5 separate regions of the Homo sapiens genome follow, and regions 2, 3, 4 and 5 are each linked to region 1. Evidence: promoter capture Hi-C in 16 types of primary human blood cells and fetal thymus (Javierre and others, 2016). All regions are on one chromosome and are shown on one strand. The core of a region is centred on a gene start or on the middle of the fragment in contact, and the rest is flanking DNA. Distances in the headings are between cores, read along the strand shown.

Region 1 (2,700 bases), core at 59-2,558:
TTTTTTTTTTTTTTTTTTTTTTTTTTTTTTTTTTTTTTTTTTTTTGAGACGGAGTCTCGCTCTGTGGCCCAGGCGGGAGTGCAATGGCGCAATCTTGGCTCACTGCAAGCTCTGCCTCCCGGGTTCACGCCATTCTCCTGCCTCAGCCTCCCAAGTAGCTGGGACTACAGGCGCCCGCCACCACACCCGGCTAATTTTTTGTATTTTTAGTAGAGACGGGGGTTTCACCGTGTTAGCCAGGATAGTCTCGATCTCCTGACCTCGTGATCCGCCCGCCTTGGCCTCCCAAAGTGCTGGGATTACAGGCGTGAGCCACCGTGCCCAGCCCGAAAAATGTTTATTATAAATCTATCCTTCCTAAAAAAGACATTACTGGCTTTTTTTTTTTTCAAAGAGAGATTTATAATATGCCAGGTTGAATTTAGGGGAAAAAAATAAAAACAAATAAGAGTTGAATGTTGGGCTACAGAAAGCAGATATTCCAGAAGATTTAGTGAAATTATATTCTTTGAAAATATTGTAAGAGAGTTAGGAGAGTGAGTTCAGTATTTAATTAAAGGCAAAAACAAGATCCTGTGTTTGAAAAACAAGATATACTAAATGAACATGTCAATCTTTAAAGACATGAATTGATTCTCATGGAATTTGGGTACATTTAAACAATGCACCTTCTTCATTACAGTGCTATAAGGTATTTGGATTTACACTGCAAATTTGGAATTCAACCTGATTTCATTTTCTTCCCTAAATCTCAACATATATATTACATTATTTGGTATGCCTTTAATCTTAAATTTACAAAGAAATTATTATCAACACAGGTGTTCTGAGTCTGGAGTGGAAATATTTAAACAGATTTGATTTTTAAAGTGGTCTGATACTCATTTTTTAAAAATGTACATTTTTATATTTGGGGTTTGTTATAAACTTTGCCTTTTTAAATAATGCAAAAATGCTCTAGGTTATTCACTGTCTTTTCAATTTTGTTCTCCTTTGGAAAAAAGGAGGAAGTAGTTACTACTTAAGGACAAGTAGCAATTTCAGACGCGCGCACGCACACACACACACACACACACACACATCACACACACAGAAATCCACAACAGCACTCATGGAATTTAGGACTGATTAATTTACATATTATTTAAGCATATTTTCTGACTTCAAACTCCTGGTTCTAATAACTAAGCATTTACATTTACAATATTAGCTTCTATGAGAAGAGAGCGTTCTCCCTCTTCCCCTTTAATTCCACCTTAAAACATCTGCAAAAGCGCAAGGAGACCAGCCCACATTTTAGCCCCTCCTACTCAGGATAAGACTTTCTCTAAGTCCGGAGCTGAAAAAGGATCCTGACTGAAAGCTAGAGGCATTGAGGAGCCTGAAGATTCTCAGGTAACTCTGGGAACTGTAAGCAATATATTTATTCTTCCTCTGCTCCACTTCTCTCTCCCACCCTCCTTAGCTTTTACTTGGTAGTTTACTTGGAAGGAAGAAAGGACGGAGGGGAAACCTCGCTGCTTTAAAAAGTCAGCATGTCCTCTGCCTTTTGAAGTGAAACACAGATTAGGGACCTCAATTTTCTTCAAACCCACGCAGATTTGCCTTCCTGGATCTAAATGCACTGTGGAGTCAAAGATTAAGGTGTTTCTTTGGGTTGGAATCCCAGAAAGTTAGCATTCAAAACGGCGGTGAGGTGGCGCTTATTAGCGTTCCACGTGATGACACCCAATGGTTACTGATCCCCAAACTTGAGCAGCAGCATGCTGTGCTGTTTGACAGCCCTAGCGATCTTTAGCGAGAGACTTTGTTGACTCACTTAACTTTTAATTTCTAAAAATTGGTCATTTTTGTTACTTATGGGACGCTTTCCTGGCTAGTCAATATTTTGCAGAATTATGCGAAAGAAAGAGGATTATTGAAAAATTAACTGTAAACGGACTGGTGTTCTGATGATCCACCCTTCCCCTAAGTTACTTGGCTTGCCAAGAGAAAAAAAAAATCTCAAAACTAGATACTAGAAAAGATTTGATCAAATTACATAGTTAAATTTTGAGTGTGGATATTTCAGTAATTTTGTTTCCAAAAAAAACAGAAAAAAAAGGTATTTGATTTTAAAGTATCAGTGGATGAATGTATCTGTCTCCTACAATTTATAATCATTTTAGTCTTAAAAATAAATTCACCTCCAAAACCAGAACAAGAAATACTCCTCATATGGGTTGATGATGTCAGCATTTATTCAGCTAAGGCAGATGGAGAGTATTAGAGGCGTACTGTCTGAATGGGTGTCAATTCTAAAGTTATATTTGCCAATATAATTTGAGTTCAAAGAAGATTTGTATTTTTGTTTCTCTTTGTTGTTTAAATTTAGAATTGTGGCTCAAGGGATATTTGTAGAGGACTGTAGTGAAACAAGCTCTGTTAAGAATTTTAAAGTTACATTCTACAGGTTCCTACACCTTGCCAATCAAGTTAGAGGTTGGGATAAGAAACAGGTATTTACTTCTTTCATTAGCTCCGGAAGAGTTAAATTTTAAATTAAGCAATAATTGTGAAATGCATAGAGAAGTGTTTAATGTGCATTTGCTCAAAGGAGTTTTACAAACTTCCCTTAGGGGAAGCATATTTTTTGAGATAAGACATTGCATCTTTTTAACATATTTTTAAAAAGTAAGTTATTCTGGCTGGGCGCAGTGG
Region 2 (2,700 bases), core at 57-2,556, 160 kb after region 1:
TTGGACTATTGCTATGAAAGATTCTCATATTCACTGCTTTCAAACGCAAAAGTTGTTCATCCTAAACTCAAGTGTGAAACTTTTAATTTAATTTAATTAATTAATTAATTTTTTTGTGAGACAGAGTCTCACTCTGTCACCTAGGCTGGAGTGCAGTGGTGTGATCTTGGCTCACCACAAGCTCCGCCTCCCAGGTTCAAGCGATTCCCCTGCCTCAGCCTCCCGAGTAGCTGGGACTACAGGTGCCCGCCACCACACCCAGCCAATTTTTAGATTTTTAGTACAGACGGGGTTTCACTATGTTGGCCAGGCTGGTCTCAAACTCCTGACCTCTTGATCTGCCCGCCCCAGCCTCCCAAAGCGCTGGGATTACAGGTGTGAGCCACCGCGCCTGGCTGAAACTTTTAATTTTAAATCATAGGTTTTTTTTCTGAAAGATGAATATATAATTTTTTCAGAAAATGGTATATGTTTATTCATTAAGTAGAAAATATATGTGTAACCACTTCTAATGTAACATTTCCCTTGGCTAATATTATCCTGGACTGCTTATCCAACAACCAGTGTAGTTGACCTCAGAGAATAATCCAAAAAAGTGGTAAGGGCTGAATCAAGCTTAATAAGTGGCCTACCTCTTGCATCTGCAAGATTTGTCTTGGGAACACTGTATGACACAACTGTGGCTGCAGTTGCAGCTGAACTGTTATGGTTCAGAATGTTCCAAAGCTCAGGTCTTCCTCTTCTTAACTGTCTGCCATTCTTCTTTCCTTGAATTATCTTTCTTTAAGCTCTTTATTCATTTTTCTTTTTATCCTCTCACCTTTCACTTTTCTGCCTATGAGGAAAGACAAAAAACAATAAAAGGAAGCCTTGAACGTTCATTCTATTGTTCATTGATTTATGCCTATGGCAAATGAGTGCCTACTGCATGCTGTCAAGCATGTTGCAGGATCCCAGGATCTAGGGGCACAAAAGTAGAAAAAACGGACCGAAGTGCCTGCCTAAGGACCTTGCATTCTGGTGGAGATGACCAAAGATGATAAACATGACACAGACATATGTTGAATGTTAGAGAGTGATAAGTGCTAAGAAGAAAAAGCAGGAAAAAGAGGAGATGGGATGTGTTAGAGGTGTGTAATTTTACAGGGGGTCCTAGAGAAGGCCATAATATGAAGGTGACATCGCAGCAAAGAGGTGAAGAGCTGAGGGAGCAAGACCTGAGGCTATCCAACGGAGAAGCACTGCGGGCAGAGGAAATAACAAATCAAAGTTCCCTGAGGTAGAGCACCAAGCATATTCCGGAAACAGAGAAGGGACCAACGTGCCTAAGGCAGAGTGGGAGGTGTACAATTAATTTTCTCTTATTTGTTCAAACTTTGGCAATATTGTTTGCATTTGATTTATCCTTCCAAATACCTCTGTAAAGAAACAAGACCAGAGAGGTTAAGAAATATGTCCAAGATGACTAAATTCTGAACCAGGTCCCTATGCTGTTGACCCTATGGCCTGTATATCACCATCTATGGTGCCCTCTAGAAACAAATTAGATGAACACTTCAGTGACAGTCATTATAAAGCTGGGACCAACTAGGACACTTGCTTTCCCTTTGTTCACATGCTTTTAGTTTCTTAACTACAATAACAGAGGCTTTTCATCTAATTCAGCTTTGCCATTTTTTCATTTATGAATTTACTAGAATTCTGATTTTATAAAAACACACATTGGGTGGCCAGTTAAATCTGTACATTTTTTTTTTATTATTTCTTTGTTCCAAAGAATGACTGACAAGTGAGATGTCCCCTTAGTCTTCCCCAAAATGATCAACGTGCCCTAGTAATTTCGGCTTGGCTCTTTGCCTTTTTCACGCAAGCACAAGTGTTCTAGTTTGTTCATTGTTCACGCCATGACAGGGCTGCTACTTTACCTCATCCATGAACAAGCTGTGCAATTTCAGGGTTTTTTTTGTTTTTTGATAAGCAATGAAAGCAACAAAATAAAAGCTTGGTGTGTGTATGTATATATCTAATTTCATTTCTTCTGAAGTATACAATTTTAAACTTTTCATGAATACCTTTGTTCTAACATGGAAAACACTTTATAAAAGTTTCAACAGTAGTTCCTCTTTCTTTTTCCTTTCCCCTTCTCTTTACCTCCTTAAACAATTTAATCCCAAAGCCATGGGAATCAATGGGGAATCAAAGTCAGACACCAAAACCTGAGATGGGAGGGCATCCATGCAGAGGAAGGTGTGGCACAGACAGTGCAGCTTGCTTACACATGGGGGAACCAATGAAGTAATTAAATATATGAAATATAATAAATATAATGAGTGCCAGTTTTCTCACTGGAATGGAGTTACAAATATGAAAATGAAGAAAAACAGAAGGTTGTGTGGTGTTAAGTTGAAGTAGGAGGTATTAGTATGAATTCACGGGTTTTAGTATAAGTAGAGATATATAGAATAAACAGACATGAAAGTGGGTGTGTGTAGAGATTCTGTACGTCTGTCACTGAGAGGATCTGGGAGCGGTGATACTCCCAATAGCAATGAGCACAGCTGGACACAGCAGTTGGCTTTCAAATCCCATCATATAACAACAGAAACCTAGGATCCTCAAGGAAGTGGCTGATTCTAGGTCGGACAGAACAAGTATAAAATGATGCTAGACCATTTTATTTTGCCACAGTACAGAAGTGCT
Region 3 (2,700 bases), core at 74-2,573, 230 kb before region 1:
TAATCCTCATCTTTCCAACGACATATTTATGTGACACTGGATTTTTTTCATGGACTAAAACTAAAGCAATATGTTAAAACAGATTAAAGAAGCAGATTTAAGAATCCAACTATCTTTTTAATTGATACATAATAGTTCTACATGTTTATTGGGTATATCTGATATTTTGATATATGCATACAATGCATAAAAGCAAATCAGGATAATTGGAATATCTGTTATTTCAAACAATTGTCCCTCTCTTTCTCTTTTCTTTCTTTCTTTCTCTTTCTTTCTCTCTCCTTCCTTCTTTCCCTTTCTTTTCTTTCTTTCTCTTTCTTTCTTTTCGTTCTCTTTCTCTCTCTTTCTTTCTTCCTTTCTTCCTTCCTTTCTTTCTTTCTTTCTCTCTCTCTCTCTTTCTTTCTTTCTTTCTTTCTTTCTTTCTTTCTTTCTTTCTTTCTTTCTTTCTTTCTTTCTCTTTCTCTTTCTCTCTCTCCCTACCTCTCCTTCCTTCCTTCCTTCCTTCCTTCCTTCCTTCCTTCCTTCCTTCCTTCCTTCTTTCTCTTGTTTTATCGCCCAGGCTGGCACAATCTCGACTCACTGCAACCTCCACTTTCTGGCTTCAAGTGATTCTTGTGCCTCAGCCTCCCAAGTAGTTGGGACTACAGGTGCAGGCCACCAGGCCCTGCTAATTTTTGTTTTTTTTTTTTTTCAGTAAAGATGGGGTTTCGCCATGTTGGCCAGGCTGGTCTTGAACTCCTAACCTCAAGCGATCCGCCTGCCTCAGCCTCTGAAAGTGCTGGGATTACAGGCATGAGCCACTGTGCCTGGCCTCAAAAGATTGTCATTTCTTTGTGTTAGAAATATTCCAAAGCTTTTATTCAAGCTACAACAAATTATTGTTAACCATAGTTCTATTGTGCTATTGAACACTAGAAATTATTCTTTCTGTTTTTACACCCACTAACCAAACTCTCTTTAAAACCTCTCCACTCACCTTTACAGTCTCTGATAACTACCATTCTATTCTCTACCTCCATGAGATTAACTTTTTTAGCTTACATATTAATGAGAATATGCAATATTTGTCTTTCTATGCCTGGTTTATTTCACTTAACAAAATGCCCTTCGGTTCCTTTCATGCTGCTGCAAATAACAGGATTCTTTTTTACGGCTGAATAATATCCATATACATATATATATCACATTTTCTTTATTCATTTATTCTTCGATAGATACTTGGGTTGATGCCATATCTTGGCAATTGTGAATAGTGCCACAATAAACTTGGGAATGCAGACATCTCTTCAATATACTGATTTTCTTCTTTTGGGTATGTATCTAGCAGTGGGATTACTGGATCACGTGGTAGTTCTATTTTTAGTTTTTGTGAGGAACCTTGATAATGTTTTCCGTAGTGGCTGTACTAATTTATAATTCTCAGCAACAGAGCAAGAGTCTTAGCTATTCTTTTATGCACCCTCCTCAGCATCTTCTATTTTCTTTTAGATAAAAGCCATTTTAACCTGGGTAAGATGATACCTCCTCGTAGTTTTGATTTGCATCTTTCTGATGATTAGTGATGTTGAAAATTTTTTCGTATACCTATTGGCCATCTGTATGTCTTCTTTTGAGGGATGTCTATTCAGATCTCTTGCACATTTTTTATTTGAATTATTTGATTTTTTGCTATTGAGTTGTTTGAGTTCCATATATATTCTAATTATTAATCTCATCTTAGATAGTTTGCCAATATTTTCTTCCATTCTATAGGTTGTTTTTTTCACTTTGCTGATTGTTTCTTTTGGTGTGCAGAAGCTTTTCAGCTTGATATAATCCCATTTGTGTAATTTTGCTTTTGTTGTCTGTGCTTTTTAATGACTTACCAAAAAAAAAAAAAATTGCCCAGACCAATGTCCTAAGGTGTAGTTCTCTCATGTTTTCTTCTAGTAATTTCATAGTGTTTCAGATCTTGCATTTAAGTCTTTAATACATCTTTATTTGATTTTTACATAAGGTGAGAGGTAGGGATCTAGTTTCATTCTTCTGCATATGGTTATCCAATTTTCCCAACATCATTTACTGAAGAGACTGTTCTTTCCCCGGTGTATGTTCTTGGTACCTTTGTTGAAAATGAGTTGTCTGTAAATGCATGGGTTTATTTTGGGGTTCTCTATTCTGTTCCATTGGTCTATGTGTCTGCTTTTATGCCACTACCATGCTGATTCGGTTATAATAGCTTTGTAGTATAGTTTGAAATTGGATAGTGTGATGCCTACAGCTTTGTTCTTTTTACTCAGGATTGCTTTGGCTATTTGGGAGCTTTTATGGTTCCATACAAATTTTAGGATTTTTTTTCCTCTATTTCTGTGAAGAATGTCATTGGCATTTTGATGGGGCTTGCATTAAATCTGTAGATCACTTTGGAAAGTATGGATATATTAACAATATTAAGTGTTCTAAACCATCAGCATGAAAATCTTTACATTTTTTAGTGTCCTTTTCAATTTCTTTCATCCATGTTTTATGGTTTTCTTTGTAGAGATCTTTCACTTCTTTGGTTAGACTGATTCCTAGAAATTTTTTATAGCTATTGTAAATGGGATTACTTCTTGATTTCTTTTTCAGATTGTTTACCTCTGTTGTCATTTTTGAATGTTTATTTTGTATCCTGTAACTTTACTGAGTTTATGAGTTCTAATACTTTTTTTTTTTTTTGGT
Region 4 (2,700 bases), core at 1-2,500, 150 kb before region 1:
TATATAGAATGTGTGAGTTTTCATTTACCACATCTTGTCATTTACTCAAAACATAACAAAGATAGCACACTAATTTTCCCTGGGGAAGAGGGTTTTATATAAATCATTTTCTTGTTTACCTATCAGTATTAGCCTGCTTGTCTGGAACAACTGCTCATCACCCCATTCAGGATGCTCCTGTTTAAGCACATCGCATACTCTGTTGTGTTCCCGCAGCCAGATTGTGGCATACATCATCAGACCAGGCACCAGACCAAAGACCTCCTGCCCCACAGCAAACCGTAGATGCTCAGGGACTTGAGGAGGGTAGATCATCTCTGCCTGAGTATCTTTGACTGTGGGAGGATACATCTCTCCATCAATTATCTAAAAAAATAAATAAATAAATAAACATCAGTTAAAAAGTTAAGGAACACATTTTTAGGGATTTTAAAATATGGGTATAAGCGGTAATAACTAAGTCTTAATAGTCAAAGGAAGCATACCTGATATTTCATTTTTCCATCCTTGAAAAGGCGCAGTTTACGCTGTCTAGCCAGAGTTTCACCGTAAATATGATTTAAGTCCACCTAGAAAATGATGAAAAAATTTTAATTTGTTGCTGTTGAAGTTTTTCTTATATAAAGTGTCTATCATATAATTCATCATTAAATAATTTGATCATTTAGCTTTCTTTAAAATTTTTAAATAAAATATACATTTTTCATAGCCATGAATTGCTAAATTAATTTGTTTATCCACCAAAGCTACAAACTGATATGTCTTTGTGTTTAACGGAATTAATATACTATATTGAGCTTATATCATATATATTATATACTTCACTATGATGATATGGTAATTATAAAAAAGTATAAAAATGTATTATTTATAAAAAATTCTTACGAATAACTTGAAGCTATGCTATTGAAATCCAAAAAATAATAATGCGGCAAAAACCTCACTTTACAATATTGAAAGCGGCATAATCATGGTACAATGTGTTTTTGAGGACATAACATTTTGCAGTACTAACATTTTAAACTAAAAAATACAAGGGTCAAATTACAAATAACAATACCTGTACATATGTATGTGTGTGAATGTTTATATATGTGTGTGCATGTCTGTGTGTGTGTATAATTTTACTAGACCAGTGAAGTAAATGGAAAATTCCTTTAAGGTTTTTATAGATAAGACTTCTTTTTAAAAAAAGTGGATAAGTTATTTGGATCTATCTATCTGTATATCTCCTTTAATGTTAGCCCTTGACTATGATTTGGTATAATTTTACTAACTCTAAGATATTAACTCTATCTTACCCCATGGCCCAGCCCGTTGGTGAAAGCTGGCCCTCGCTTATGATCTGTCTTGAAAAACTGATGCGTGAAGTGCTGGGCAAAGAATGCAAACATCATGTTTGAGCCCTGGGGATCAGGGATGAACTTTCTTCTTAGAAGCAATTTTTCCACAATCTCATTTGAATCAGGAAGCTGCTTTTTACCTGAAAAATGAGAAAGCTAAGGTAAGAATCCATCTATGTATTCAAGAAAGGAGATGGTGACTGTCAATCTACCAAGAATTCTTCATTTATATGAGAATTACAATTGTGAATAGGATCATAATATAAACAACAGTTCTAAGATATGGTGGAACAACTTCTTACTGAATGATTTTATCTATTTTAATTAGAATTATTTCATTTCTAAAGAAATAATTTGAAAATATTAAGACATTATACCAAGACGCTCATTTGCTTTTACATAATAGTTTATATAGACTCATACTTTAAAAAATACCCATAGATAACCATGCTAAAAGTAAAAACTGCTTTTGTTAATAAATAAATGGTAGTCTAAGGTCAATTTTTTTTTTTGGCAGCAATGCAGCCCGTCTTATAGTTAATACATCTCTAATGGATTCTTCTTACTCACCTTTGACACCCAAGGGAGTCGGGCAATCATCAGGCACAGGAGGAAGGGCTCTAGTATAATAGGAGAGGTTAGAGAAGGCTTCCCAGCTTTTGTAGCCATAGTCAGCATTGTAAGTTGGTGGACTGTCAATCAAATGTGATCTGGCTGAAATTTTCAAAGAAAAAAATGTTTTATTTATTCTCATTTGTTAAGTAAATCAACCATTATTTTTATTGTAAAATGTGGAAAGTGGCACCTGAGGTTGAATGTAACTCCAAAATAAAAAAAATCTATTTTTAAACAACTACACTTTATAGTCTAATGGCCACTTGAAATACATCTTTAATAAAATACATATACTCTGCACATTATAATCTGGCAATATTGATTTTTCAGGTAGCCATCTGCTCACTATCCAAGAGGCCTATGAAAGGAATGGCTGAGTATGGCACCCACTTTAGAATCATGGAAAGTTATTTTCTTGCTGATCCAAATCCAAATTTATTTTAATGGGTGCTACATGTTCAGAACAATTCTGTGGCCCATGGGCATTCAATAAACAGCTGGACCATGCTACCTCCACAAACTGACCAAACAGTAAAGGTTAGAAGAGGTATACAGAGTTGTGAGCAGACTGTATAAACTGGATGGGACTAAATGTCAATATTTTTGGCGATTAAGATGGAAGGCAAACTTAAAAGCTATCTTAAAGTCTTTTTGATAAGCTTGGAAATATGTTTTTAGATTAGGCTTACAGTATTATAAAGCATATTTTTCTTTGAGAAGGCTAAAAACCTTAGAAAGACAC
Region 5 (2,700 bases), core at 9-2,508, 130 kb before region 1:
TGCAGGAACATAAAACCAAATACCACATGTACTCACTTAAAAGTGTGAGCTAAATGATAAAAGCTTATGAACACAAAGAAGGAAACAACAGACACTGGGGCCTGCTTGAGGTGGGAAGAGGGAGAGAAGCAGAAAAGATCACGAATGGGTACTGGGCTTAATACCTGCATGATGAAATAATATGTACAACAAACCCCTATGACACACGTTACATATGTAAGAAACCTTCACATATACCCCCAAACCTAAAACAAAAGTTGAAAAAAACACACACATGAAAATGACAAGCACATAAATAAACAGGAAAAAGCCATGATCAACTAATTCAATAAAAACTTGCTTAGTACTCTTATGAAAAAATAGATTGCACTAAGAAGCAAGGAAATACAAATAAAATCAAGTGAACATTAAGTCTTACAAATTAGTAATGTAATAGTAAAATAAATGCTATATATAGTGTGCATGTATTGCATTATAACTGTATGCCAGGAACTGTTCATCTTTTTACAACTTTAAGTACATAAATGTAATGGAGGGAAAATGGTCGCTGTTAGAAATGTTCAAGAAACAGCAAGAAGGCCAGTATGCCTGGTGGAAAGGGAATCAAGGGGATGCTGGGAGATGAAGTCTGACACAGTGGTATTTGGCAGTTAGCAGGTTCTTAATATGTTTTTTAGGACCAGCTATCTGTAATTGGTGGGGCTAAAGGCCAATTTTATTTTCATCTTTTGCTTATTTGTATTTCTATATTTTCCAAATAAATGCTTGTTATTTTTATAATATAAAATAAATATTTTAATAAAAATTTATTTACAAATGAAATACCATAAAAAATATGATGGTGGCATGCACCTATAGTCCCAGATACTCAGGAGGCTGAGGTAAGAAAATCACCTGGGCCCGGCCGGGCGCGGTGGCTTACGCTTGTAATCCCAGCACTTTGGGAGGCCGAGGCGGGCAGATCACCTGAGGTCAGGAGTTCGAGACCAGCCTGACCAACATGGAGAAACCCTATCTCTACTAAAAATACAAAATTAGCCAGGCGTGGTGGCACATGCCTGTAATCCCAGCTACTTGGGAGGCCGAGGCAGGAGAATTGCTTGAACCCGGGAGGTGAAGGTTGTGGTGAGCCAAGATGGTGCTACTGCATGCCAGCCTGGGCGACAGAGCAGGACTCCGTCTCAAAAAAAAAGAAAAAAATAAAATAAAACAGAAGATCATCTGAGCCCAAGAGTTCCAATGAGCTATGATCAGCCTAAGTGATAGAGTGAGACCCTGTCTCTACAAAAAACAAACAAAAAGAGATAATAGATTGTGTTCTGTTAGATACTAAAAATGAGTCATTTTCTCCATAGATAAAATGAAATTCTTTTCTTCCTTTCATCTTGTTATCAGGTACTTCCTACTTACATTGCCTAACTTGATTTTATGTAATTTGATATAAAGAGATTTGAGTTCTCTTTATAGCAAAGATTTAATCAAAGAGTAACTCTCTTTTTATCAAAGATTTTTAAATATCTTTTTGATATAAAAAGAATGTAAATCTCTTTATATCAAAGACCCTATCATTATTTCCAACATAGTTCAATGAAAGAAACACGTAATTTGAAGCACTGACCACATGACCTTGGGCAAATACATACATTTATTATCCCTCAGTTTCTTCATCTACTCATGTTTGTCATGAAGATAAATAAAATATATGGACTCCTTTGAGTTATCAGAAGAGATCTAAACCTAATACATTCAGGCTTCCTGAAACCCATTACTTCAAATGCAATGTGGTCATTATTGTGCTCTGCTCTTGAGATTTAAAATGTCTTTTCATTTCCACTTTTCCATTTTAAATTTTAAATTTTATATTTCAAATTTTATACTTTGAGCTGTTTTCAAATCAACCCTTGGGCTGTTGGCTATCACACAAAATTTTCTCTTCTACAGAGATGAACACAGGGCCTATAGAACATTCAGTGTCCAGAACATGTCTTCTTTTTGTGGTTCTACTTGATTCCATTCTGGTACTGTTTGAAGAGCTGCAAATACTGCTTTTAAATTTAGGTTTTTCATTTGACATTTAAGTAAAACCTTACTCTGTAAATCAGCTGTTTTCACTTATAAGTGCTGCATGTGATTTATTTTAGAAGCAAATGGCGAAAATTTTATTTAAAGATGCACGCTCCCTCTTTTAAGTTTCTTGTCAATTTTTTTCATGTAAAAAAAAATCTTGGAAAAACAAAACAAAAATGGTAAAAATGATGTAATGGGTACATTTAAAATTTACTAGACTATTGCTCACTTTCAAAATTTAACCTTAAGTAATCCTTATATATTAAGCTAAATCTTATATCTAATCTATATTTTTTCATTGTATGCAATCATCATTCTTTGTGATTCTTGTTTATATTTTCATTCTCTATTTTCTCAACGTATTTACTAAGCATATTCTATGGATAGAAGCTTATGTCTGAGTCAAAATACAAAGTGTGGCTTTGAAGCAGAACATCAATCAAGCAATGAAGACCTGATTTTATAAGTCAACCTGCCACTGGGGTAGCTGTAAATCCATGGCTTCTAGTTATTACTCAATAGATGTTCAAGAAATGACCGATTATGTTTGGTTTTTATTCTTCTGTATTCTTGGAACTACCTTCACTTAGTCATATATTTTCATTACAGGACTAGCAATTATCACTGATTATC

The links. The method cuts DNA at HindIII sites, captures the fragments that hold promoters and counts their contacts. A CHiCAGO score of 5 or more calls a contact.
Region 2: a fragment that was not itself captured here is called in contact with the fragment with the promoter of PLA2G4A in region 1 in 1 of 17 cell types (M2 macrophages); the score reaches 5.2 in M2 macrophages.
Region 3: a fragment that was not itself captured here is called in contact with the fragment with the promoter of PLA2G4A in region 1 in 3 of 17 cell types (monocytes, neutrophils and megakaryocytes); the score reaches 11.7 in monocytes.
Region 4: a fragment that was not itself captured here is called in contact with the fragment with the promoter of PLA2G4A in region 1 in 3 of 17 cell types (neutrophils, megakaryocytes and monocytes); the score reaches 7.5 in neutrophils.
Region 5: a contact is called between a fragment that was not itself captured here and the fragment with the promoter of PLA2G4A in region 1, in 2 of 17 cell types (neutrophils and monocytes). The highest score is 6.6, in neutrophils.

What each region holds. Positions count from the first base shown.
Region 1 is chr1:186,827,641-186,830,340 of GRCh38, forward strand. PLA2G4A (phospholipase A2 group IVA) reads left to right here and starts at 1,309. Exons shown (of 18, transcript NM_024420.3): 1 at 1,309-1,395. The HindIII fragment of the contact is 13,801 bases long and covers 1-2,700 here.
Region 2 is chr1:186,989,023-186,991,722 of GRCh38, forward strand. No RefSeq gene overlaps it. Among named protein-coding and RNA genes, the nearest start is that of LINC01036, 100 kb to the right of the region's middle. The HindIII fragment of the contact is 1,386 bases long and covers 614-1,999 here.
Region 3 is chr1:186,596,970-186,599,669 of GRCh38, forward strand. No RefSeq gene overlaps it. Among named protein-coding and RNA genes, the nearest start is that of PTGS2, 82 kb to the right of the region's middle. The HindIII fragment of the contact is 944 bases long and covers 852-1,795 here.
Region 4 is chr1:186,676,348-186,679,047 of GRCh38, forward strand. It overlaps PTGS2 (prostaglandin-endoperoxide synthase 2), which reads right to left. Exons shown (of 10, transcript NM_000963.4): 4 at 1,914-2,057; 5 at 1,302-1,483; 6 at 486-569; 7 at 120-366. Among named protein-coding and RNA genes, the nearest start is that of PTGS2, 2.7 kb to the right of the region's middle. RefSeq lists an enhancer at 1,227-2,426. The HindIII fragment of the contact is 2,730 bases long and covers 1-2,615 here.
Region 5 is chr1:186,698,364-186,701,063 of GRCh38, forward strand. No RefSeq gene overlaps it. Among named protein-coding and RNA genes, the nearest start is that of PACERR, 19 kb to the left of the region's middle. The HindIII fragment of the contact is 2,394 bases long and covers 62-2,455 here.